Linked DNA regions of Homo sapiens: all the other regions are linked to region 4. The links are contacts of gene promoters, found by promoter capture Hi-C in blood cells and fetal thymus (Javierre and others, 2016). All regions are on one chromosome and are shown on one strand. Each heading gives the region's core, a stretch centred on a gene start or on the middle of the fragment in contact. The rest is flanking DNA. Distances are from core to core; before and after follow the strand shown. Region 1 overlaps HEG1 (heart development protein with EGF like domains 1). Region 2 overlaps MUC13 (mucin 13, cell surface associated). Region 3 overlaps HEG1 (heart development protein with EGF like domains 1). Region 4 holds the start of ZNF148 (zinc finger protein 148). Region 5 overlaps HEG1 (heart development protein with EGF like domains 1). Region 6 overlaps LOC124906278 (a long non-coding RNA gene). Region 7 overlaps HEG1 (heart development protein with EGF like domains 1).

Region 1 (3,377 bases), core at 719-3,218, 410 kb after region 4:
GAGAATGTTATTTAAAGTTGTATTATAATTGCAACCTCCACTAATTATTCAGTACTGTAGCAGCAAAGTATTATTTGTAAGAATTTGGTTATTTTTATACTTATATCCACTCTAAGTCTGGCGTTCTAGTCAGTAAAATGATGCAATAAAATTAATATCATTTTCATTGTGTGTTTTCCTCTTAATAACAAGAAAACCAGACCAGAATGCAACAAGTTACCAGTTGTACAGTGAGCTTCCACATGGCAAATGTGGAAGCTGAGTCATTTCTGTATTCTCAGTGCCCAGCACTGGGGAGGTACACTTTTGATGATGGATGGATGGACAAACAGACCTAAATGGCAGGAAGCCAAACTTAGATACAGCACCTGCTTTTGTTTATGTGAATTGGAGACCATAAGTGACCAATTCAGATACTTACAATTCCCTCCTCAATGTCTCCCACTATCCCTTCCATGCCAACTCTTCATGTGTTGGAGGAGAGGGGAAAGTAAGCCTATGTGTGCTCTGGTGGGGAGAATCTGCAGAACTTTAAGATGGTGGGCCATGGATCTTACACTCATGGTGGCCGAGGGATGTGGCTGCCTGTTTAGGTATACATTCGTGAATGAATTGCTTCCTTGGATGCCTTGCAGGTCAGGGATGATGAGCCTCTCATATGCTTTATGGCAAAAACCTTGGCACTGGGGGAGGCCAATAATGGCAGTTTGGGGCATGAAGGTGACCTTTTGGCAGGTTGGATCAGGGCTACGGCCTTCCAAATGAATGGAGGTGGCCAGTAGCACTCTCCTCTCCTGAGCCAGCCCCACCCACTCAGCTCTCCCTTCCCCACAGCTCACAATCCCAACTGAGGTCTGAGCAGGAACCCAGGACTGACCCCTTTCTTGTTCCCACTCAGCTTAGGCAGACTCATAAACATCGCATCATTTCCAGACCTTCTCTCCCCTCATACTAATTTTTGTTTGTATTTTATTTTTAAATTGTGTATATTTAAGGTATACAACATGATGTTTTGAAATACACAGTGAAATAGCTATTATAGTCAAGCAAATTATTGTATCTATCATCTCATTGATACGTGTGTCTGTGTGTGTGGTAAGAGCGCCTAAAATCTATTCTCTTAGCAAATGTTCAGTATACAACACAGTATTACTAACTATGGTACTCTGACCGTACATTACATCTCCAGGCTGATTCATCTTACATAAGTGCAAGTATGTACCCTTTGATCTATTTCTCCCCATTTCTGTGCCCTCCCACCGTTCTACTCTCTGTTTCTATGAGTTCAACTTTTTTTAGATTCCACATGTAAGTGAGATCATTCAGTGTTTGTCTTTCTGTGCCTGGCTGATTTCACTTAGCATAATGTCCTCCAGGTTCCTTGTTGCCCACATTGTTGCAAATGGCAGGATCTCTGTTTTTAATACTGAATAATATTCCACATGTGGTAATACGCAACACAGTTTCTTTATCCATTCATCTGTTGATGGGTACTTAGGTTGTTTCTATGTTTTGGCTATTGTGAATAATGCTGCACCCTGGTGATTGTTTTGAACCTAAAATGGAAGGAACTTCTGTGCATGATAAGCTAGCCTGAGTGCTTTATCCTACTTGTGCCACTGACCTGGCAACACAGAACCTCCACCTCAGGCTTTGATTACCAGCAAGTAAAGAGCTAAAAAGTGATTTTAAACTGTTGGGCTAAACCTCAGCAATGTGCAATGAGCCATTTTCCAGTTGCTTGGGAAGTAAAAGGTAAGGGGCACAATGCATAGATCATACAGGTCAGAGTCCTCTCCCGTACTGGATATTGAACGGCTGTGGCAGCTTTCAGTTCCTAGGGCTGGATTGTGGTAGCCACTTGGCACAGTGAGCAGGAACTTCAGGTCAGAAAGATAAAAAGATGCCAGGAGTAAAGGTATTTATGTCGATGTGTGTTGACCCCATAAATACTTGCAGCACCATCAGCTGGTACAAGACACTCTCCAGCCATTTTGTGGCTGTTTTCCCAGATCATGATGTCAGGCCTAAGAGGCTGCCCAGTTCTCTGAGCCTCAGTGTCCTGATCAGTAAAGTGGGGATAATAATCATTGCCTCACAAAGTTCTCATGAGGGTTAAAGGGGAGAACTCACAGGAAAACACTATGAGTGTTTCCTATGATTTTAATATAAATCAACATAAATATCTTTACCCCTGGGATCTTTTTATCTTTCTGACCTGAAGTTCCTGCTCTCTGTGCCAAGTGGCTACCACAATCCAGCCCTAGGAATTGAAAACTGTGAAGAAATAGCACATTGGTTCTCTTCAATAGGTCCCTCCTGTTACCAAAAGAAGGAAAGATGCCACTGTGGGAAGCCGAGGTGGGAGAATCGCTTGAAGCCAGGAGTTCAAGACCAGCCTGGACAACAAAGCAAGACTCTGTCTCTACAAATTTTTTTTTTTTAAATTAGCCAGGCATGGCGGCTCATGCCTGTAGTCTCAGCTACTCAGGAGTCTGAGGCTGGAGGATCGCTTGAGTCCAGGAGTTCAAGGCTGCAGTGAGTTAGGATCAAGCCACTGTACTCCAGCTTGGGTGACAGGGTAAGACACCACTACCGCCAACAAAACAATAGCAACCACAAAATAGAGGAAAGACAGTTGCAGAATTGAATGTCATCTCCATACTGATATGCTAGTAACTCCCCCTGAAGACCTTGGACTTGTGGTCAAAATGTTCTAATATTTCCCCTTTACTCCTTTTCCAACCTGTTTCCTATATCATCAAGGGATTAATGGGCTCAAAATCATAAATCCTGTGGGGATAGGAACCAATCCTATCCTTGTTAAATATTATCTGCTCAGTGCCTGGCACCTAGCAGGCATTCACTAAAACAAAGAATGAGTAAGTGGGCAGACCAATCAGCCAACAAAATAAATAAATCATGGCAATTAAAGATTCTGGAGCTCTAGCTCCTCTAGTAGCTGCAGGCTGATGACTGGCTGACAGTGGAAAAATATATAGCTGTGACATATCACTGAACAGGAGCACTTAGCAAAGATCTCTTGTAGCAAAGCCCAGGCAAACATCTGTGGAGGAAACACTTTTAAAACACACTAGAAAGTCCTTTCCCTGGGGAATTGTGGAACTGTGCAATAGAATCTCACTCAGCAATTTAAAGGAACAAAGTACTACAACAGGCAATGACAGATGAGTCTCAAAGTGTTGTGCTAAGTGAAAAAAGCTGGACACAAAAAGTCTCAAAGCATTGTGCTAAGTGAAAAAAGCTGGACACAAAAAGTCTCAAAGCAATATGCTAAGTGAAAAAAGCTAGACACAAAAAGGACACAAAAGGCTTTTCCATTTACATTACATTTGAGAAAAGATAAAACTATAGGA
Region 2 (3,482 bases), core at 431-2,930, 440 kb after region 4:
AATTTTGCAGAAAAATCACTGGCATGAAGTAGATGGACTAATAGGAAAAAAGGCATACAACTGTATTTAATGTGTGTACCCAGGAACCTTCAGCATGAACACCCAACTTCCTGATGAGGTATAGAAGCTTATACACCATCTTGAGGTTACAGAAAGAAAGGGGGCTTGGATCTTGGTAAAACAAGTTATGGAAGAAGGGAGAAGAGGAATTCTGTTGAGGGGCAATAAATGATTATTAGGGAGAATAATTGGATCTGGGAACAAAAATGAACTTGTAGATAATTCTCCTTGGAATTTAAAGATCCTTGGAGACAGTCCTTATCTTGATGAAGGGTCAGCTCAGGGGTGGTTTCCTTCTCGGTCTTCTTTCCTGTAGTGGATAATGACATAACAGGGAGGGGAACAGGAGCAATAGTTCTTCTTTGGTGGATCAGTCCTTACAGCGCTTGTTGACCTCTAAGAGTTTTTAATTTAAAATACTCATTATATCATGGAGCTATATTTGGGGGTGAAATATTTTTATTTCCTTCAGGTTCAATGAGTTGAAATCTAGAAGCTGCTTGCAGAAAGGAAGAAAGTATTTGATAAGGCAGATGTATGAAGAGAAATTAAGCCCTTTCAGAGAACTGGAATGAATGGCATCAGGATTAGAGTTTTTTGAGAGCTGGTTTCAAGCTCTTAATGCTGGAAGGTTGGAGAAGGCTAGCTGCACAGGAGGGGAGGGCTCACCAGATCTCTCCTGCCAACCTTGGGGGCAGATGCTAGGTCCAAGCCTTCAGGACAAAGGAAGAATTGGTGAGGCTTGTATGACTTTCAGGAGCCACTGTTAAAAAAGGCTTGACTTTTTAAAAATAGAATAGAAGGGCGGTAGAAAGGGGAAAGTTGGCTGGGAGGGGACAAGGAGATGAATAGAGAGTTAAGGGAATCAGGAATCATTGAGGCTCAAGGGACCTTAGGGGAATGGAGATGTTTCTTGACCCAGAGAACCCAGGGGGAAGGGCAAAAGTAGGGCAAGCAGGGATTCAGATGGCATGCCACCACTTATTAGCTGTGGGGTGTCTCTGACCCTCAGTGTCTTCCTGTGTAGCAATAGAGGGGAAATCCCTATACTGAAGAGTGACTGAGAGGATTAAATGAGACAAAGAGCCTGATGTGCCGGGATACTGCCTGGCACATAGGGGCTTAATAAATGATTTCCCTTTTTGTCATGTCTGCACTTGGATCTGATTTTCTTTTCTTTCTTTCTTTTTTTTTTTTTGAGACCGAGTTTCACTCTTGTCGCCCAGGCTGGAGTGCAATGGCACGATCTCTGCTTACTGCAACCTCCGCCTCCCAGGTTCAAGCGATTCTCCTGCCTCAGCCTCCAGACTAGCTGGGATTACAGGCACCTGCCACCACACCTGGCTAATTTTTGTATTTTTAGTAGAGATGGGGTTTCACCATGTTGGCTAGGCTGGTCTCAGACTCTTGACCTCAGGAGATCCACCTGCCTTGGCCTCCCAAAGTGCTGGGATTACAGGCGTGAGCCACCACGCCCAGCCTGGATCTGATTTTCAAACTTTGGTTTTGATTTCCTCTTCTTTGTTTAAAAAAGTTATACAAGTAATGCAGACCCACTGTAACAAATCCAAACAATACAGATGTATATGAAATAAAAATTGAGCATCCAATCTGACTTCCCACCCATCTACCTCCAGATATATTAATACTGACAGTTTTGTGGCTACTAAGGTTTGCTTTTGAAAAAAATATTTATTTTATTATTTATTTATTTATTTTGAGACAGAGTTTTGTTCTTGTTGCCCAGGCTGGAGTGCAATGGCGCCATCTTGGCTCACTGCAACCTCCGCCTGCCAGGTTCAAGCAATTCTCCTGCCTCAGCTTCCCAAGTAGCTGGGATTACAGGTGCTCACTACCACACCTGGCTAATTTTTTTGTATTTTTAGTAGAGACGGGGTTTCACTACATTGGCCAGGCTGTTCTCGAACTCCTGACCTCATGATCCGCCCGCCTTGGCCTCCCAAAGTTCTGGGATTACAGGCGTGAGCCACCGCGCCTGGCCTTATATTACTTTTTGAGATGGAGTTTTGCTCTTGTCGCCCAGGCTGGAGTGCAATGGCACTATCTCAGCTCACTGCAACCTCTGCCTCCCAGGTTCAAGTGATTCTCCTGCCTCAGTTTCCCGAGTGGCTGGGATTATAGGTGCCTGCCACCACGCCCAGCTAATTTTTGCATTTTTGGTAGAGATGGCGTTTCATCATGTTGGCCAGGCTGATCCCAAACTCCTGACCTCAGGTGATCTGCCCGCCTCGGCCTCCCAAACTGCTGGGATTACAGGCATGAGCCACCGCGCCTGGCCTGAAAATTTTTAAAAAGTTGCTTTTTTTTTTTTTTGAGACAGAGTCTCGCTCTGTTGCCAGGCTGGAGTGCAGTTGTCACGATCTTGGCTCGCTGCAACCTCTGCCTCCTGGGTTCAACCAATTCTCCTGTCTCAGCCTCCCAAGTAGTTGGGACTACAGGCGTGTGCCACCATGCCCAGATAATTTTTGTATTTTTAGTAGAGACAGGGTTTCATCATGTTGGCCAGGATGGTCACAATCTCTTGATCTCATGATCCACCCACCTCAGCCTCCCGAAGTGCCGGGATTACAGACATGAGCCACCGCTCCTGGCCTGAAAATTTTTAAAAAGTTGCTTTTTAATGTAACGTTAAGGATTTTGGAGGTGTGTGTAAGGAATCACTACTTCAAACATGAGTTCCATCTCAGATTCTGAGCAACCAAGGGCAGGAAGTGTGTCTTGTACACCTTTACGTTCCTCCTCACCCCTATGCCTTGTATAGCACCTTGACTGCAAGAACCCCCGCACAAGCATTTACTGAAACAAATGAAAAATGTGCCAGTGACATTTGAAGAGCCTTTAACAGGCAAAACTTCCCAGGTTGTTTTTGCTTTCTCTGAGAGACTAGGACTGCATTATTCCACAGAATCTGATGAGTGCCTTTGGGAACCAACATCTCATCATAATGAAGAATTCAGATCTGGGAGAAAGGCGTTTGATTGTGACTTTCAGCTAGCTTTGAATAAAGCAGTTATAGGTGTGCCCTGGACAGGGGTGGTGATTATGGAGTGTTCCCCAGAAAGAAACCAGGTCAGGGCATATATTTTCCCATTGAAACCTATGATTTGTACCTCTGTGGACGTTGTGCTATCCTTGTGTTATTTAGAAGCTTTAGGACCTAAGGAAATAAAAAGACTAAAGTTATTTCTACTGCACAGATGTCTTCATATATTTCTGTTATCTATAGATTGAACAAAATAGGTTATTTTACAGTTCCTCTTGGGTATTTTTACTAGATAATTTAAGCCTGGGATATCAGCTCTAAGCTGTCTTCCCTGAAATCTATACAACCCTCAGATAAAACACATATATACACATAGACACACACAAGTGTATTTTAGTTTAAAAAAAAATCGTAGCTA
Region 3 (3,676 bases), core at 38-2,537, 360 kb after region 4:
TTGCGCCTCTCCTGGTTGGCTCTCCACAGGTCTTGAGCCCTTCAGACTGGCTTGAGTCGCATCTCTGTCTGGCTTCTGGCTTTCTCAGTGATGCTCGTGGCCCGTGCTCATTCCTGTCTCTGTCAATTCAAACCTATCCCAAAATGAATTTAGCCAACACTCAGCTTTACACTGTTTTCCATCAAAGCATGGCCATGGCGTACTGACAGCCAGTCTGGGCTGGGAATGTGAATAAGAACCAGAAAAGAGCCTGTTTTTTGTTTTTTGGGTTTTTTTTTCTTTTTGTACAGCCAGATTAGGAAGGATTTAGGCCAAGGAGAATTGGACCTCATTTTCATCATTTCTGAAGAGAAGGGTTTATCTGATAATCTAACAATCTAAAATTAGTTCTAAGACCCTTTAGGTTTGTAGCATAAACACATACCCAAAAGAGAATGAAACAGACATTTATTCATGTGTCGTCTGCCCTCTTCCATCCCCATCAATAGAATAAAACACATGCATTTTAAAAAATAAAAGAAGACAAAAAAACAAGCCCACCTTTCACCCCCCACCTCAGGCTGTTTCTTTGCCATTGTACTAATGCCGTGTAATGACTGGCCTTGTGGCCATTCATGTATTCCTGGTCCTTCCGGGAGGAAGAGCCTTCCAAGGAGGACTATGGCCTCCCTTCTGGGCCTTGTGCAAATGTCTGAAGCCCCAGTAGGATTATTAGTCTTTCACCAACTGTTTACCTCCTCACCACCACTACCAATTTCTCTGACATAAACTCTATTTATTATGTATCACTGAGCAGAAATCTAGTATCGATCCTATTTGCTAAAGTAATATACCCTCCTATAAATCCAGGGTGCCTGAACAGTTGTGCTGATCCACAGTTCCTCTTGAGGTTTCAATCACTGAGCCATGTTTGCAAGGGCAACAGACATCTCAGATAAAGACCCTAAAAGTACAGGGGAGCGTCTTGGCTCCCACAGCCCAGGAAGTGAGGCTTGGGGCACGATCCTGTCGCTCCAGCCCTGCATTTTTCAGCCATCCTCTTTCACTCTACTTTTAGCCTTGGAAGACAGCCGAGAGCCAGGCCAAGCACTAGGTGACAGTTCCGCCAATGCAGAGGACAGGACTTCTGGGGTGCCCTCTCTCGGCACCCACACCTTGGCTACTGTCACTGGAAACGGGGAACGCACACTGCGGTCTGTCACCCTCACCAACACCAGCATGAGCACGACTTCTGGGGAAGCAGGCAGCCCTGCAGCGGCCATGCACCAAGAAACAGAGGGTGCCTCTCTGCACGTAAACGTGACGGACGACATGGGCCTGGTCTCACGGTCACTGGCCGCCTCCAGTGCACTCGGAGGTGGGGTGTCTTCCACAGTCTCTTTTAACACATCCCTTCAGCTCATCTATTAATTTACTCACCGTCCTGGGATGATTCAGTTAGCTGTCAAGCCAGAAAGTGCCTTACAAGCTCTTTATGGAGAGAACTTTCTAGATTCTCCCACCTCAGGAAGGTGAATACCCCTCCCCAGTTCCCACCCCCAGCCCTCCACACACACTCACCTAAGGAATTTGGGATAGTGTTTGCTGGGAGACTTAAAATAAGAGACCAACCACTTGTGGCTAAGGTCAATCTCCTGGGAAAGAAATATCTCATTCTATAGAATGGAAAGTTGGGAAGATTTTCCTTTTTTCATTTAGGCATAACAGTTATTCTATTTGGGGTCTTAAGAGCTTTTCAGATACCAGTTTGCTTTTATCGAAAAAGGCATGTGGAGGAAATTTGCAACTCCTCTCCATTTTTAGACCCTTAGTCCCCACTTCTCTTTTGTTACCATTTCCACTGCCGCTACCACTGCTTCTCTCAGGAGGTCAGTCTGCTCAGAGGAGACACTGACCACTCCTGCCTGCCCACAATGTCTTTATTCAGAGTGCTCACCCTTGAAAACCACCTCTCCAAAGCAAGTGTTTCACCCACTTGAATTCATTGAGTTTCATGACACTGAAAGTCTGTTTGATAGTGCATATTTCAGAGTTTTGTTGTTCTTTTATTTGACCTAACTTTGGCTTTTCCGTTTACAGTCGCTGGGATTAGCTACGGTCAAGTGCGTGGCACAGCTATTGAACAAAGGACTTCCAGCGACCACACAGACCACACCTACCTGTCATCTACTTTCACCAAAGGAGAACGGGCGTTACTGTCCATTACAGATAACAGTTCATCCTCAGACATTGTGGAGAGCTCAACTTCTTATATTAAAATCTCAAACTCTTCACATTCAGAGTATTCCTCCTTTTTTCATGCTCAGACTGAGAGAAGTAACATCTCATCCTATGACGGGGAATATGCTCAGCCTTCTACTGAGTCGCCAGTTCTGCATACATCCAACCTTCCGTCCTACACACCCACCATTAATATGCCGAACACTTCGGTTGTTCTGGACACTGATGCTGAGTTTGTTAGTGACTCCTCCTCCTCCTCTTCCTCCTCCTCCTCTTCTTCTTCTTCAGGGCCTCCTTTGCCTCTGCCCTCTGTGTCACAATCCCACCATTTATTTTCATCAATTTTACCATCAACCAGGGCCTCTGTGCATCTACTAAAGTCTACCTCTGATGCATCCACACCATGGTCTTCCTCACCATCACCTTTACCAGTATCCTTAACGACATCTACATCTGCCCCACTTTCTGTCTCACAAACAACCTTGCCACAGTCATCTTCTACCCCTGTCCTGCCCAGGGCAAGGGAGACTCCTGTGACTTCATTTCAGACATCAACAATGACATCATTCATGACAATGCTCCATAGTAGTCAAACTGCAGACCTTAAGAGCCAGAGCACCCCACACCAAGAGAAAGTCATTACAGAATCAAAGTCACCAAGCCTGGTGTCTCTGCCCACAGAGTCCACCAAAGCTGTAACAACAAACTCTCCTTTGCCTCCATCCTTAACAGAGTCCTCCACAGAGCAAACCCTTCCAGCCACAAGCACCAACTTAGCACAAATGTCTCCAACTTTCACAACTACCATTCTGAAGACCTCTCAGCCTCTTATGACCACTCCTGGCACCCTGTCAAGCACAGCATCTCTGGTCACTGGCCCTATAGCCGTACAGACTACAGCTGGAAAACAGCTCTCGCTGACCCATCCTGAAATACTAGTTCCTCAAATCTCAACAGAAGGTGGCATCAGCACAGAAAGGAACCGAGTGATTGTGGATGCTACCACTGGATTGATCCCTTTGACCAGTGTACCCACATCAGCAAAAGAAATGACCACAAAGCTTGGCGTTACAGCAGAGTACAGCCCAGCTTCACGTTCCCTCGGAACATCTCCTTCTCCCCAAACCACAGTTGTTTCCACGGCTGAAGACTTGGCTCCCAAATCTGCCACCTTTGCTGTTCAGAGCAGCACACAGTCACCAACAACAGTGTCCTCTTCAGCCTCAGGTAAAACACAGTCACACAAGCACATGTTAACTGCAAGGCCCAGTCCAGCACTGAGAGCTACATGGGGCTCGGGGTTCATGTGAATTTGTAGAAATGGCTGGCATTTGAAATAGCTTCTGTTTTGCGACCTAAAATGCTTCCTATTGAAACACTTAAAGTGTAAAAGAAGGTCATGGGTGGGCCTAATTTTCTCACCCCTGTGTTGTATAATGCTTCCTGAATAAAGAGG
Region 4 (3,921 bases), core at 680-3,179:
ACTCTGGACTATTTTTGCAACTTCTTGTGAGTCTATAATTATTTCAAAATAAAAAGTTAAAAAAAAAAAAAAGGAAAAGTAAGTAGGCTGAGTACCTACGGGTGGTGTTTAGGGAAGTGAGCAAGAGGAGCATGGAGAGCCAACCTGAAGCTGAGAAGTTTTTCCAGTTTAACTTATAAAGGACCTAAGCTTGCTCCTCACCATCGCTTTTGCTGTTACTATCCCTGTAGTGCTCTTCGTTCTGCCCATTTTAGACAGCTGTTTCTCTATCGCTTGTTAGGCTGCTGAGCAGAGAACTAGATCTATTCCTAATAGCAAACCAATCAATCCTAGCCCATTGGATGTAACCTCCAGGCCTTGAGCCCTTTTCAGTTATTAGTTTTCCCACTGCCTAATACTGAGAGTCGGCTTTCTTGCTGCCAGAGGTGTTTTTCATTATGACGTCTGAATTTGATGCCACTGCGGGTGCTAGAAGTTGCCAGAAGGCTGTCCTCCAGATAACTGTCCCTTGGCTCTAACTTGTGTCATTGTTTTGTTGCAATTAACATTCAGAATATGTGCGGTCATCTTATTAAAATTTATATTTTTTAATGGAGAAAGCACACAGAGAGAGTTGATTGTGGAGCTGTGGTTTACTCTTGCTCTTAGTTACCTGTGTCTAAATTAAGCTGAACCTCTGGGCCTTAGCTATTTCTAAACAGGCATCACGATTTACTAAGGTTAATGCCTGAGGGAACATTAACCTTGCAGACACTAATCTAATTCAGTGTCATCACAAGTGCATAATGCAGGAGTTTGGAATTTTGCCAAAAAGCACTATTCAAATGAACATTTAGTTGGCAAGGGGTGGGAAGGCGGGTGTGGAAAAGGGAAGGAGAACACCAGAAATGGCTCTATAGATATTTTCATGCCTTTTCTTTTCCCTCTCCCCTCAAAGGTTACGTTTAAGTATTGCAGAGAGGCGCTAAATGGAATCTTCATATTATTATGAAGAAATCCCAATGAACGCGTTTTATCCCACGGCAAGTTCCAGATGCTCACAATTACTCAACATTCACTGAGCATCTTTTATGTTATATGGCTGACCTTGTGCTAGGGTGTGTACACAAAGATGAGTAATTGTAAACGATGGCAGTATGCAGAAGCACCTCAGGGCGCCTAATGTTAGCTGACGAAGGCACCATTAAGGAGGTCACAGTTTGGCTAAAGGGCCCCCAAAGGATGAGACAACTGTGTAATCCTAGCTCTATAGAGATCATTACCAAGTCTTTGCCATACAAAGTTTGGGCTTCAGGTGAAATGAGAAGGGCAAGGTTCTGCCCAAGAGGGTCCAGGGCCGGATCTCTTGATCTGTGTCTATGCCCACACCCTGCATCTCAGCTTGCAGACACTAATAGGGTTTGCCAGTTTCAAGGGCGCAGGGCTACATCTTCCGGAAAAGGTGGCATTTGAAGGTGGTAAGAGGCCAACGACTGGAGGTGGCGGCGAAGGGCTAGGTAAGACAGAATAAATGAAAAAGCCAAGACATTTCTGGCAAATAACCTTTCACCTAGGTCCCCGACCCTTCCATTTCCCCAGGCCTGAAACGCTCCCGAATCCCCGAGTCCTCCACTTTCCAAGCGCTGGGCATTGGTTAAGGCTGTAGGAGCAGGGAGTCCCCCGCTCTAAGAGAGTTCCTCAGTTCCGATCTTTTTCAAACCGCTTTCCTCCCAGGCCCAGCCTGGGGGGCCTGCGGCTCGGGTCCAGCTTCCACGGCCACCCTGGGCTGGTGACACGCAGGCGCCGGAATCGAAGCCACGCTGTGTCTTTCCAGCCAGGTCTCTGCGCCAGACGAGGGCGGGCGCCGCGGAGCGCTTCCCGTGTGCGGGGCTTCCCACAATGCACCGGGCCGGCAGTGGCGGCGACCGCGGCGGCGCTCTAGCTGCGGCATGTCTGCGTCTCTACTGCTCTGGGAGGAGGAAGAGAAGGAGGAAGAGGAGGAGGAGGAGGAGGGGGAGGAAGAGGAGAAAGGCGCAGGGGTGGGAGCTGTTGCCGAAGCTGCCACAGCAAAAGTTCTCCCCCCTCCCCCCTTCCCCTCCTCTCAAGGCCCCTAGAAAGGTTGGAGCTGCCGCCGCCTGCAGTCGGTGACCGCGCGACTCGGCGCCCGCCCGCGGTAAAGCGCTCGGCCTGGCAGGCCCGGGCCCGGGGGAGGGCGGGGGAGGGGGAGGGGGCGGCGCGCGGGGGGAGCGCGCGGCGGTAACGGCCTGACCCCGGGGGGAGCGAGCCGTGGCGAGGCTGGGGGTGGCCAGGGGGCCAGCCGAGGCCGAGGGAAACGCTGGGGCTGGCTGGGGGACGTGAGGAAGCAGGGCGCGGAGGGTGGGTTGGGGGGTTGAGGAGGGATAATGACGGGGGTGGCGGAGGCGAGAAGGCGGCCTCCGAGGCTGGAGGCGGGTGTCAGAGGTAGGGGAGGAGGTGGGATGTTTGCACGGGGAGGCCGGAGGGTGCTGGGTGTGGGTGTGAAAAGGCTAGGGAGACACCAGGGCTCTGTCCACCGTGCCTGGTGCAGTGCTTTATGCACCGCAGGCCTCAGTCACTGTTGCTGCCGGAGTGTGCTCTTTGGGAGAAGGGAAGGGCAGGGGTTGGAGAAAAGGGAATGCTTGCAGGAAACGTAGTGGGAGTGCGAACAGGGCGAGGGGCCGGAGGAAAGATGCCGGAGAGGTGGAGGAATGCGGGGAGGTGGCTGTGGAGGAGTCTTGAGGATTCTGGGGGGTGTTCATTGTGCAGATACGTTAGGTATTTCATTATGGAAAGAACTGAAGCGTTTCTCAGGGAAGGAAAGAAGGGAGATAGGAGTTCCCGTGAATAGAAAGGATCGCGTTTGAAGCAAGAGGGAGTGCTAAATAGTAGAGAAGATGCAGGGAATGCATAATAGAATAGACAGATGTAGTATAATTAATAAATATTGGCCTAAGTACTGAAGAGTTATTCCAGATGGGCCGGGATGGCCTAGTTCCGAACCTGTGTGGGCTGTTCAGTAGATGACATCTGGTAAGTGTGGGTCTGGGCCGTGGTTGGGGTCACTGAGAATTAGATTTTAGTCTGTAGTTTGGTCTGTGACATTTTAGACGTGCACCAATGAGTATGAGAACCTCTGAAGCAGACCTTGAGAAAGGGTCTGGCCTGTGGGGATTCCTTAGGCTATGGAGCTTCGATTTTAGAAAATTTGAAGTATTAACACTTACCCGAGGTTGGGTAAATACTATCCTGGCAAACGCTGGAATGGAAATTAATTGACTTGGTGGTTTTCTTCACTGCCCAGTTTATCTGGTCCAGGAGAATTGGTGCCGTATTATTCAGCCTGGATTGCAGTACACAAGATTATAATTAATGGTCGGGGGGAAGACATGCTTGCTGGCTCTTCTTTAGATACTTCATTTGTAGCTCAAATTAGTTGGCTGGATTGGTTCCATAAATCTGTGGCTGGTGGGAGATCTTCTGCCATTCACAGTTCCTGAAGTGAACTGTGAGGGAGTTCTCCAGTGAGAGAATACTCTCATTCAGGCATGATGGCATTGAAGAAAACGTATCAGCCAGCAAAGTGTGGGCCTGCAGAATGGAGGAGCTAGAATATCTGTTTTGGTTTTAGGTTGCAAGGAGGTCAGGACTAGTTATCAGAAGGTCTAGGGGAACCTAGGAGACTGGACGACTCTAGAGCCAGGTTGGAGGGAGGATTAGCATCTCTATGTCAGGAAATGAACCAAGCTCTCTCTGGATTTGCTGAGCTCACACCAGACCAGATTTCCAAGAGGGAACTCTGGGCTAGAACCATACTCTTAAAAACTACCCGGATATTATTCACCTTTTATTAAGAAAAAACTATATACAGCTGGGCGCGGTGGCTCACACCTGTAATCCCAGCACTTTGGGAGGCCGAGGCGAGCG
Region 5 (3,631 bases), core at 834-3,333, 380 kb after region 4:
CATTCAAATCAAGTGCCTTGCAAATCAAGTGCCAGCCATTTGGATTTGAAAGAGCCTGCTCATGGCAGCCCTACCCACCCTCTGACTCCCATTCTTCCGACTGCTTGTATATGGTTTATGGGAAAGTACCTCTCACCCTTGCTGCCTTGCTGAAGTTCCTATTTACTTCTCCTTTCAGAGCCCGTGAGAACAAAGACAGCTATGCATATTAGCTGAAAAAAACAGGCTTGTTTCCCTGTTTTTCCTCCCAGGTCTTCTCCAGGTTTTGCCAAGACCAGCCTGGTCTCATGCTAACCTTTCTGAGTACTAGAGAGGTGGCCTTGACAGCTTCTGACATCTGGGTGTTTCCAGCATAAGGGCAGTGCTGGGCTACTCTGGACACTGCCATTGGAAAGGAGGGTTTTCTGTCTTCACTTCATAAAATATCCACTTCCTTGCCTTTCAAAGAACTGCAGCTCTTGTCATCTCCAGAGGTTTAGTCTTTGGAAATCCCCCATGGAATGTCTCAGCTTTAGATTTACTTAGAGTCTCATTGTCTGTTTTGGCGGATGTTATGCCCAGGAAAGACCATGGGAATTGTGAATGTAGCAAAATCACATTGCCAGGCTTTATATGAAAATGGGATTCTACGTGGTCCTATTGGATGAATTTATGGTAGAATATTCTTTGAGAATTTGTAGGGTAGCAACTCCTCCACTGCAGAGGCAGGGCCTGTGTCCCATGCTTTTGCATGGATCTGCTTCTGTGCAGGGCACAGTTGCTCCAGCAGAGTGATTTGCCAGCAGGCTGGATTAATGGGCAGGGTGGAAGGAAAACGTGACATTGGCTTCCAGAAAATATCTAATCAGGCCAGGCAACTCTGGCTGGCTGCTGGACAAGGCAAGTGTCAGCCTGGACAGGTTTCTGCCCTGGAGGAATTTCTTTATATTAAGGCTTGAGGACTGGCAAAGCCTTCAAAGAGTTGAGATGAGGGATTGTGGAAGTTCATTACCTCCCTGGTGCCAGCTTTGCAGTGTTTGCCTGGTGAGATTTTCCATTTTTAATTTTTCTCCCTTAAATACAAACTTTTTACAATAAACAAAGGAAATTCTGTCACACACACAAATGTGGTTCTGATTGAGCACGCTAGCTTCCACTGATAAAGGCAGGAAATTCAGCTTTGAGAACTAGAGTTGTGTCCTAAGCTTACCTCGTGTGACCAGGCTGTCTACCGGTCCTGAGTTCTCAGGACTCACAAAAGGGGGCAGATTTCAGGAACCCCATGTGGGGTGGCAGCTCATGTCACCAAAACCTGCCTGGGCAGGGGCAGTTTTGCAGCATTAAAAGGGGTACCTGGCTTCTGAATAGGTTGGCTTCCTCCTTTGGGTGGGAAATGGGAGACCATGCCTGGAAAATTGGCAGCCATTCCTCCCTGCACAATAGATACATGGCCCTTCCCCTTGCATCTTTCTTCCCATTCTGAACTTGAGCTTGCCCCCCAATAACAACAGCAAATATCTAGCTTGCCTTGCCCTGCACATGGGTGTAAATAAGGTACTATCCACTATCCAGTTGGTTTCCTATTTTTGTTCTGTTCTCTGTGTACCCCATATACACAGGAGGCCTATGCACCCTCATTGTGTCTGCTGTACACAACTTCACAGAGGGCCATATGCCCCACAGGAAATGCTTTCTGATAATAATGAAATGATTCTTTGTCATCCATGAGATGAATAAGGCCCTAAAGTAAACAAGGTAGCAAGCCTGAAAGATGGGCTCCTTCTCTGCCTGCCTCTGTTTCTCTCTGCCTGGTCAGTGACAGGCGGCCATGTGTACCAACCAGTCCCTGTGCCAGGCACTGAAGACCCAGAGATGAAGAAGCCTCAAGAACCCATCAGTGGAGTGGGGGAAACTGCCTGATAAGCAGAATTACACTACAGCCCGGGGCAAGCAGATTGTCTTTCAGATCTCTCCTCATCACCAGTCTCTTGTAGGCAGCACGCTGTCAGGACAGCAAGCCACCTTGCCACAGGGAGTGGTTCTAGGTCCCTTTTTAGGCCATGCAGACACACAGAGCTGAGATGTACTTCCACTTGAAACAGGTCTGGCCTGCACTCCTGTTCTTAGTCCAAGTCTCGGCTTCCTAAGAACTCAGCCGTATTTTCTGGTTGTGCTGATCCTTCCTCCGCAGTCCTTTGGAAGACACGGGGCCATTAAGGGCTGTATTTGCAGTGAGCACCAGAGGAGTGAACAGGGCCTGTTTATTCCAATTTCGTTTCTCAGTGGGTCCGTGGCACGCTGTGAGGGTGTTTTCAACGGGGAACACTGGTGCACAGCCTGCGGCTGATCAGAGAAGGAGTGGCAGAAGGCAGTACAGATGGACTCCTGAGAGGAGTGTTGCTCTGTGGAGACTTTTCGGAAAACTGTTCTCAGCCTCTTGAAATAGAGAGTTCATGCAGACACATGAGCTTTGAAGTGGAGGAGATTTTAAGGTTTGAAGTGGAGAAGGTTTTGTTTTGTTTCACTGTCTTGTTTTTCCATTCCAGCGGGCAGCTTGTGCAAGCGGAAGAGTCCCGAATGTGACAAAGACACCTCCATCTGCACTGACCTGGACGGCGTTGCCCTGTGCCAGTGCAAGTCGGGATACTTTCAGTTCAACAAGATGGACCACTCCTGCCGAGGTAGCCACAGCTTCGCCTGGGGTTCTGTGCCCAGTCCTGGGACTCTGCCTGGTGCTCTGTTTCTCTTTCTTGCTCTCTCTCTGTCTTTGCTTAGGCGTGACCATTCTAAACTGAGGGTAACTGGTTCTTGTTATTTTGCTCGTGGCAGGATTGAATACATTATCTCCTTGGAATAATAGCATTATCTTTGACTGGTGCATGCTGGTCTGGCCAATTAAATTCAAAGGAAGACAGAATGGAATGCCTGTGGTAGCAGTGCCTTTTCTTTTTTTTTCCATTTAAAGGAAGTTAGAAAAATTATTGTTTTAATTCCCAAAGCTTTATCTGTTGTCTGCTAATCTTTTAAAGTGGAAGTACAAGCGTGGGGTCAGGCTTATATCTTTCAGAGGCAGCTGAGGCCAGAGTCAGAGCCCGACTCTGCCTCACTGATCATGTATCACCTTGGGCAAGTCACTTTGTTTCTCTGAGCCTCGGTTTCCTCTCCTGAGAAATGGGTATGGTGATCCTCTATTGGATATTTATTCTAAGAGTTAAGGAAGGCAGTGGATATAGAGGCCCTTTGTAAGCTGTCAGCATCTGCTCTTGTATTTGGTCCAGGTTGTTGTTGAATTAATGAGTTCTGGTTTTAAAGGTCTCATGAAGTGCTTGAGAGCAGAAATCTAATTCTACTAACCTTTAAGGTGAGGCTTAAATTCATTTAGTTTCAGGGAAAAACTGCTCAAAGAATGTAGTCCAAGAATACTGCTTTAAAATAAAATTAATTCAGGTCCAAGAGCACCACGCACCCTGACTTATAAAAGGCTGCTGCAACTTGCAATCACCAGAAAAACTAACGATATAAAGGCCATCATGGATGGCCAGTTTTCCTACTCAGTCAACACCTTGCTGGTGACAGATGTCAATGGATGTTACTGGAATCTGAATAAAAATCACATACTGGGGCGAGGCGACATGCCACTTTTCTCCATCAG
Region 6 (3,908 bases), core at 251-2,750, 300 kb after region 4:
CGCCTTAAGCACCAAGTGCAGGAGCCACCTGTGCTCCCAAGGCGTGTGCTTCAGTTGGTGCTTTGTCACAGTCATTTACTGGTGATAGTTTAATAGAGAAGGGAAGGCTTTTGTGGGGAGTCCTGACTTTGCTTCAGAAAGGACAGCAGAATGGTAAGGAATAGGTCAAAATTCAGGTATGGTCTCATTTGCATTGTTGCCCAAGAGCTTCCTGGAAAGAGTACAGAGCTCTGTGGGCCAAGTCTTGTGGCCTAGATATCATGACTACATGTTGGGCCTAGAGCTCAGCCTGAGGGACCATAGTTGTCGTGACAGCCTCCAGTAGTTCCTGGAGCAGCAAGAATAAGGTCTCTTGTTTACAGAGGTTGTCCCACACTCCTCAGCAGTGTTGAGAAGAGGTTGTCTCCAGCACCTCCCTAGGAGACTGGTCTCAAAAGTCTAGAAACCAGTAATCAGATGTCACTCACTGTAGGATACAAGTGGAATGATATTCTACTAGGAAACAAGCATTTCTAAAAAAATTACAAAAATGTAAACTGGTAACTCTGATAAATGCTTAAAGGTGACATCTCTGATGGTGTCCATCAAGACTAAGCTTGATTCTCTCCATTTGAAGACCTCTGGGTCAGTCCTCAAATCTGTGTCCTGAGGGCTTAAGGTAATCACAGCAATCGGCCCTGACTTTTGAGTGGACAGATCCTTATCTTGTCTGCTCCTTTCCTTTTGTGCTGTTATGACTAATCTTTTTTTTTTTTTCCTTTGAAACATGATCTTACTCTGTCACCCAGGCTGGAGTACAGTGGTGCAATCACAGCTCACTGCAGCCTCAACCTCCTGGGCTCCAGCCATCCTCCCACCTCAGCCTCCCAAGTAGCTGGGAGTGCACCAGCGTACCCAGCTAATCTTTGTAATTTTTGTAAAGATGGGATTTTGCCATGTTGTCATGCTGGTCTCGAATTTCTAGGCTCAAGTAGTCCTCCTGCCTCAGCCTCACAAAGTGCTGGGATTACAGGTATGAGCCACCCCACCCGGCCATGACTAATCTTAATATGTCTATTTTTGCTCATTGTCACTGAGTGGACCTGGAGGCTGAGGGCTGGAAGAGCAACTGGAATTGCTGTAGTGCCAAATATATCCCCTTTCATGTTGATGCCACCCTGGCCAAGGTATCATTTTTGTGTGGCAGCCAGAGAAATCTTTTCAAAAAGAAGGTGGAGCTCTAGTCCTGTGGCTGCCAGTTGTCTTCAGGTCCCGGCCTTTCCTGCCCCCAGGCTCATCTCTATCCAGGACTGCCTGGGAGTCCAGCTCCAGTCAAGTTCAGAGGTAACAAGCAACGTTATTGTAGCTTTATGTAAAATAACCAGAAAGTAGAAATGACCCAACTCTCTATTGACAAGAATGGATCAACATCCTGTTGCATCCACGCAATGGAATCCTAGTGAGTATTAAAGTAATGACACAGGAAACCATGTAGCTGAATTTTAAAGCACTGGGTAAGTAAAGGAAGCCAGGCACAAAAGATGAAATACTTGAAGTTTTATTTGTTTGACCTCCAGGAAAGGCAGTAGCACAATGACAGAAGGCTGGGTCTGGGTCTGGGAGGGGGTCGATTGCCAAGGGCATGACACAACTTTTTGTGGTGAGGAAATTCTTCTTCTTCTTCTTTTTTTTTTTTTTTGAAATGGAGTCTCGCTCTGTCACCCAGGCTGGAGTGTAGTGGTGCGATCTCGGCTCACTGCGACCTCCGCCTCACGGGTTCAAGTGATTCTCCTGCCTCAGCCTCCCAAGTAGCTGGCATTACAGGTATGTGCCACCAAACCCAGCTAATTTTTGTGTTTTTAGTGGAGACAGGGTTTCGCCATGTTGGCCAGGCTGGTCTTGAACTCATGACCTCAAGTGATCCTCCCGCCTCAGCCTTCCAAAGTGCTGGGATTACAAGCATGAGCCATTGCGCCTGGCTGGGGAAATTATTCTGTAACTTGATTTCGGTGGTGGTTTTATGATTATATCCACTTATTAAACTCATTGAATCATACACTTAAGAAAGTAACCACTCTGAAAAGGATAGTACTGAGTTTGAAAACCAGCAGTTTGAAAAAGATGGTACCAAGGTTAAAAACCAAATGCAGTAGAATATCCAAGTATCCAGGAAGAGCACCTTCCTAATGTGATTGATTTTATGGAAAAGAATAAGAGAAGAATGGAGCATGATAAAGAATTCAAACATTATTTTCCACATTGGGGTCGCCAAAATGAATGGCTCGGTCTAGTGTAGGAGGCAGGTGCTACACAGGCTGACTTTCTAATGAGGTCCAAAAATCTTGTATTTCACTCCAGCTAGATTGTGAAAATAGTAATAGTAACACCAGGTCTTAGCCTGGGTTTCTCAGAAAGCGGAAGCTTATGAGCTACCCCTTGATTGGAGAGTGCAGCCACAGAAGCAGGATGAGAGGAAAGAGGGGTAAAGCAGGGGAGGAGGGCTAGCAACAACTTAGTATCATATGCAAATGATGCTTCACCTCAAAGGACTCTGCTGAGAAACCACAGGAACCCTAGGGGTAGGAAGGGATCAGAATTCATCTACTGGCTTCTGCTTCCCATAACCAAAAGTTAGCTCTGGGTGGGCACCAGCAACCCTGCCATTGTGACCTGCACGACGTGAGTGCTTAGCAGGCTGCAGCAAGAAGACACTGGCTGCAGCCCACCAGAACTGGTTGTTCCAGTGGCGGCTGAGATGGAACAAGTGGACTTGCCCCAGAGACAGGTGGAGCAGAGAGGATCTGAGGTGGCACATTAAGAGGGATTATAAATAACGTGCATATTGACAGAGGTCAGTGGTAAGTACAGGTTGTCAGACAAAACATGCATGTCACTGGATCATTCTTATCTAAAGGATGCCCCCAAAATGTCAGTACAGCCGGTATATGTGACAGTGAGACCAGCAACATTTTCTAAGATAGGGAGAGGGGCAGGTTCCTGGCCTGAATTTTACCAAGAAGTCCACAGTTGTAGGTGATAATGTCTGAATGAGTGAAGGTTGTATCAGACCTTCTGGGCCCATGAAGGTCTCCCTTCAGACCAGTCTATAGATTGATCCATCCAATGATCCATCTACCTGCCCACACACCTACCCATTGACCTACCCAGCCATCCATCCATCAATCCATCCACCCATCCATCCATGGCTGGAGCAACTGTTCTCATAACTTTGTAGATGGGTGTCTGAAACCACCTCATCAGAGTCAGGTACACCTCACCAGTCTCAGAGCTCTATCATGTAAAAATATGATCACAGGCCATGCAGGTATAAGCAGACTCCCCAGCCACCAACCTCAGACCTTAAGGATGAGTACAGCCCAATGCCAGAGCATTCTTAAACTCAGGTGAGGAACCAGAACAGCAGTGATTTTCTCAGCTGTCTCCAGGAGTCATGCTAACAAGTCCTCTCACCTATATAATAGGGGGTATCCTGCACAATTATAAATTAGTGTGGGAGTTTGAGGTCCAGGATTCCATCATCCTTCCTTCTCTCCAGGTTTCTGACTGAGGAGATGGGAAACAATGTGTCTGTTAATGTATTAATACCAGGACGAGGGTGCAAAGCTTTTGTTAAGAGCTGTAGTGGAGAATGCAGTCAAGGTCAGAGGATTGACACAAGTCCTCTAGTGTCTACCTTTATTCCTCTTAAGTCTAAGAATCCAGAGACCCCATGAGGATGGATGAGAAGCTGGCACCAAGAGAAAGAATGCCCATCTGGGTGGCAAGGGCAGCTGGTCTTGTCACCCAGTAACAGATGGACAGAGACCATGTGGTGGCTACACATTACCTTTCAACTCAGGGCCCTGCCTACCAATGCAGGGTGGTCCAGGCACTGGCCAATCAGATTGCCCCCCACCATGGGGAGGAGC
Region 7 (3,636 bases), core at 593-3,092, 340 kb after region 4:
CTTATGTACTGAGCCTCAGTCTCCACTTCTGTAAAATAGGGCAAGAATTACCCTCCTGCCTGCCACTCAGAGGGTCAGAATCTAAAGGGATAATTTAGGCCATGAAATTATCCTGTGAAAAGTGCTTTGTCGATTGTAAAATGCATGGGAATTTTTTTCTTAATTTGATCTGTGGGAAGAGAAGCACAGATTCATTCTCCTGGAAAGGACCTGTGAACAGTAGTCTGCCCCTCTTCAGTCTGTGGCCATCCATCATACTCAAAGGGGAATTTTAAAGGAGGGTGCTAAAAGTCCTTTAAAAAAAAAAAAGCCTGTTTTCTCCCCTCCCTGTGTGAACAATTAAATTTTAGGAAAATGTTTTAAAATGACAAAGAAACCCACTCTCATAGGTATAAGGATCCATTGCTGGTATCTAAGACAATGTTATATTTTCATTTGATTGTGGTCCACCAGTCCCCAAATTGAGGATCCCAGGAATGCTCTACCGGGGAGGCAGGAACGGGCAATTCCACAGCTGAGCATCAGTGTCTTACTGTTCTGGAACCGCTCCCTTTTGAGCAATATGACCTTCATCTTTCTTCTACCAGGCGACACCCTAGAAAGACCTAGGGACTTTCTGTAGGGCTGGTCTCACTGCCTTCCTCTTCACTGGCTCCTACCTTTAATTTTGTCCTATCCTTCCCTTGTCATCTGCGTCTCTGTCACTGGCTCTTCTCCTGTCTCTACATTCAAGTTTTCCCGGGAATCAGTCCTTGATCCTTGATTTTTCCCTTCGTATGTCATATCCTGTCCTTTCTCCTAATCAACGGTCCCAAATCTTTAACTGTCTGCCAGACATTTTCCCTTGGAAGTTGTAACATCACCCCAAACGTCACATATCAAAAACAGACTTTTCTTGTTCCTCAAGCTCATTCTCCGTTATGGCTCCACTCTTTCTCTCTTATTCTTTTCGTTATGCGTAAAAATCCTCTCTGAGTTAGAAGCTGATCTAGAAGTCCTCTTGCTCAGTCTTCCAGCTAATAATGTGCAGCTGTTGTCAAATCAAGTCTGTCTGATTCCAAAGCCCGTGTGATAGGCACCATTTCATTCCTCTTAGAGAGAAACAAGGTCAGCACAGTTGTGTTTCAAGCTGCAGTTTGGCTTTTTGTGGGGGACTTGTTTTTTTTTGTTGTTTTTTTTTTTTTTGGCTCTGTTCTTTTGGCCAGTGCCTTAAAGCCTCATGGAATAAGCTGGAGTGTGATGGAATGAGCCCTAGGTTCAGACTGTGTCTGTACTGCTAGTGAGTGCGTGACCTGGAACAATCACTTAATCTTTCTGACCCTCAGTTTCCCCATGTGCTATATGAGGATAATAATACCCGCTTGACAGGGTATTAATGAGATAATGCATGTGAAAATGTTTAGCACGTGGTAAGCCCTAAATAGATGTTAGTGAAATCTGAATCCAAATGGAGGGAAAAGAAAATAAAGGGCTTGTTCTTCAATTGTGTGCCCCAGAAGCTTGTAGCTGGCAGCGCTTGTCATTTGGCCCGCTGCGGGGGTTGAGGCTGAGGTGTGGGGGTGGGGTGGACCCTCCAGGAGGAAATTACCTCTTTGGATAAGACAGCACACTCCCTGTATGCTCCTACTCACTCCACTGCTCAGAAACAATGCAAACTGAAAAGCCCCAAATCACTGGCAGGGAGTGGGGGGTGGCAAGGAGTTGACTCTGTAGCAGCTGCTAATTAGGAAATCCTATTCTTGGGCTGTGCTAGCATCCCTGATGATGCTGGTTCACAAACAGATGTTTTGGAACATTAAGACGCTACAGAAGTGGAAGTTGTCAATTAGGAGGAAAAAAAAAACAGGCAAAGCAAGCAATAAAACGCTCTTGTTAATTTAATCTCCATTCATGGTACAAGGGAAAGTTATGGCCCAGCACAGGGGGCTAAGTACAGAGGGAAGGATGGTATTTTCAGCTCAAAAGATACCTGAGAAATGGGATGTCTAATCTCCAATATGAGGAGGGTTGGTGTGAATGGGGTTTGAATGATTGTCTCTGACCATCTGCGAAGCTGGCCTGGGTGAGGTGCACAGCACCAGCCTACTAAGCCTCCAGGGTGCCCCCTCCCACCCCATGAATGTCTGAGGGGGCACAGCCTCTTCTCCTTACTCCTGACTTCATTGGGCCCAGGCTCTGAAGCTTGAGGAATCCCGTCTCCTTTCCATTTCTCCAGGGCCGTTTCTCTTCTCCACCAAGAATAAGAGCAGGTTCTTTGACACCTCGCCCTCCATGTGGCAGGTTTATTCCAAATTACTCTCCTACTCAGGGTGTACACAGGTGCTGAATAGGGAGCCATGCCCTAAACAGAATTCATCCACAGTGGCCCTGATGAACTCAGGGCTTCAGAAAGGATCAGTCATTGGACTTCAGTACATATTTTAGCATTTGACCCATTGTCCCCACTGCGATGCCACCTGGAATGGTGTAAAGCGCTTGGATGTTCACAGTCAAACAAGACCTCCAGTGGCAGTAGGGGTGGGCTGGGGGTGTTGCCTGCTCCAGCTATGTGGTTTATTAATCCCTTTCCAAGGAAGAGTTAGTAGGCAATAAGAGAGATAGAGGGGTACCCGGAGTTCAATAGGGGACAGTGGGATATTGTTCTTTTGGGGTACCAGGCCAGTGACTTCAAGAGCTTGCTGTGCTGGAGGTGGTCCCAGGTCTCACGCTGTGCGTCCTAAGCTCTCCCTATACCTCCTAGGAGAGGTGTCGTGGAGTGGAATTCAGCGAGGCCCAAACTGTTCCTGCAGCCATTTGTCTAGCCTCAGTGCTTTTGTCAGAGTGGATTCCTAGCTTCCAAGAGGGCTTGGGAGCCTGGGGCCACTCTGGTATGGGCTGTGGTCCACTACCTGAAGAAGGGTTAGGACACTGAGCTTTGATTGATTAGCAGTGCCTGCCAAGGTCATCCACCCAAATCTATTTCTTAAAAGTTGACAACCCTAAATCCATTTAATAGCTATGACATATGTAGCATTCACTGTGTACCAGGCACTCTTTCTAAGCTCTTACATGTCTACATTCCATTGGTTTTCACAACAACCCAGTGAGGGAGATGCTGTTAATATCCTCATTTTACAGAAGGCAAGCTGGGGCATGAAGCAATTAAGGATCTCACTTAAGATCATAGGGTATGAAAGAGGTGGAGCCAGAAGTCTAACCTACATGGTCTGACTTGAACCACAGTCTGTGTATTCCCCCACTGCCTCTCTTATTAAGAATTGAATTTCTAGAGACACGGAAAGCAGTAGTTTCTCACCAGTGCAGGCGACTTTGGTACCCACTGACTAAGGAGAAGTGGAGGTGTAACCACAGAAGGCAGCTCTTTGGGGCCAGCAGGGCCCAGCAGTGGCTGCACTAACCAAGGGTGTATTTGGTGTCTAGCTGCTCTGCAGAGGTGGTCATGGGCTACCAGTTATGGCCATGACTGTTACTGAGTGTAGTTAGGCATCCAGGGGCAGAGCAGCTGAGGCACAAGGAAACTCATCAGTCTTTCAGCTATGCCATCAAAAGCCACTCACATGCTTACATTATGTTTCAGAAATGTCACTGGAACTCCTACCTACACACTTTGTTAGTAGCAAGTTGCATGAGCCAACT

The links. Contacts are between HindIII fragments. The CHiCAGO score rates a contact against its expected background, and 5 or more counts as called.
Region 1: a contact is called between a fragment that was not itself captured here and the fragment with the promoter of ZNF148 in region 4, in 1 of 17 cell types (monocytes). The highest score is 5.8, in monocytes.
Region 2: a fragment that was not itself captured here is called in contact with the fragment with the promoter of ZNF148 in region 4 in 5 of 17 cell types (endothelial precursors, naive B cells, total CD8 T cells and 2 more); the score reaches 7.9 in endothelial precursors.
Region 3: a contact is called between a fragment that was not itself captured here and the fragment with the promoter of ZNF148 in region 4, in 9 of 17 cell types (naive B cells, total B cells, naive CD4 T cells and 6 more). The highest score is 7.5, in naive B cells.
Region 5: a contact is called between a fragment that was not itself captured here and the fragment with the promoter of ZNF148 in region 4, in 14 of 17 cell types (fetal thymus, naive CD4 T cells, total CD4 T cells and 11 more). The highest score is 11.5, in fetal thymus.
Region 6: a contact is called between a fragment that was not itself captured here and the fragment with the promoter of ZNF148 in region 4, in 1 of 17 cell types (total B cells). The highest score is 5.2, in total B cells.
Region 7: a fragment that was not itself captured here is called in contact with the fragment with the promoter of ZNF148 in region 4 in 1 of 17 cell types (total CD8 T cells); the score reaches 5.6 in total CD8 T cells.

Annotation. Positions count from the first base shown.
Region 1 is chr3:124,962,499-124,965,875 of GRCh38, reverse strand. It overlaps HEG1 (heart development protein with EGF like domains 1), which reads left to right. Exons shown (of 17, transcript NM_020733.2): 17 at 1-166. Among named protein-coding and RNA genes, the nearest start is that of MUC13, 29 kb to the right of the region's middle. The HindIII fragment of the contact is 5,337 bases long and covers 1-3,377 here.
Region 2 is chr3:124,930,343-124,933,824 of GRCh38, reverse strand. All of the region lies in intron 1 of MUC13 (mucin 13, cell surface associated), which reads left to right. Among named protein-coding and RNA genes, the nearest start is that of MUC13, 2.7 kb to the left of the region's middle. The HindIII fragment of the contact is 3,102 bases long and covers 130-3,231 here.
Region 3 is chr3:125,012,394-125,016,069 of GRCh38, reverse strand. HEG1 (heart development protein with EGF like domains 1) reads left to right here. Exons shown (of 17, transcript NM_020733.2): 6 at 2,080-3,447. Among named protein-coding and RNA genes, the nearest start is that of HEG1, 42 kb to the left of the region's middle. RefSeq lists an enhancer at 1,131-1,425. The HindIII fragment of the contact is 3,992 bases long and covers 1-3,283 here.
Region 4 is chr3:125,373,333-125,377,253 of GRCh38, reverse strand. It overlaps ZNF148 (zinc finger protein 148), which reads left to right and starts at 1,929. Exons shown (of 9, transcript NM_021964.3): 1 at 1,929-2,152. LOC105374080 (a long non-coding RNA gene) reads right to left here and starts at 1,828. Exons shown (of 3, transcript XR_924427.3): 1 at 202-1,828. RefSeq lists enhancers at 1,605-1,654, 1,765-2,034 and a silencer at 2,145-2,194. The HindIII fragment of the contact is 7,036 bases long and covers 192-3,921 here.
Region 5 is chr3:124,996,718-125,000,348 of GRCh38, reverse strand. It overlaps HEG1 (heart development protein with EGF like domains 1), which reads left to right. Exons shown (of 17, transcript NM_020733.2): 12 at 2,526-2,660. Among named protein-coding and RNA genes, the nearest start is that of HEG1, 57 kb to the left of the region's middle. The HindIII fragment of the contact is 1,794 bases long and covers 1,187-2,980 here.
Region 6 is chr3:125,076,649-125,080,556 of GRCh38, reverse strand. LOC124906278 (a long non-coding RNA gene) reads left to right here. Exons shown (of 3, transcript XR_007096045.1): 1 at 1-3,908. Among named protein-coding and RNA genes, the nearest start is that of DAGARR, 17 kb to the right of the region's middle. The HindIII fragment of the contact is 1,805 bases long and covers 598-2,402 here.
Region 7 is chr3:125,037,385-125,041,020 of GRCh38, reverse strand. All of the region lies in intron 1 of HEG1 (heart development protein with EGF like domains 1), which reads left to right. Among named protein-coding and RNA genes, the nearest start is that of HEG1, 17 kb to the left of the region's middle. The HindIII fragment of the contact is 682 bases long and covers 1,502-2,183 here.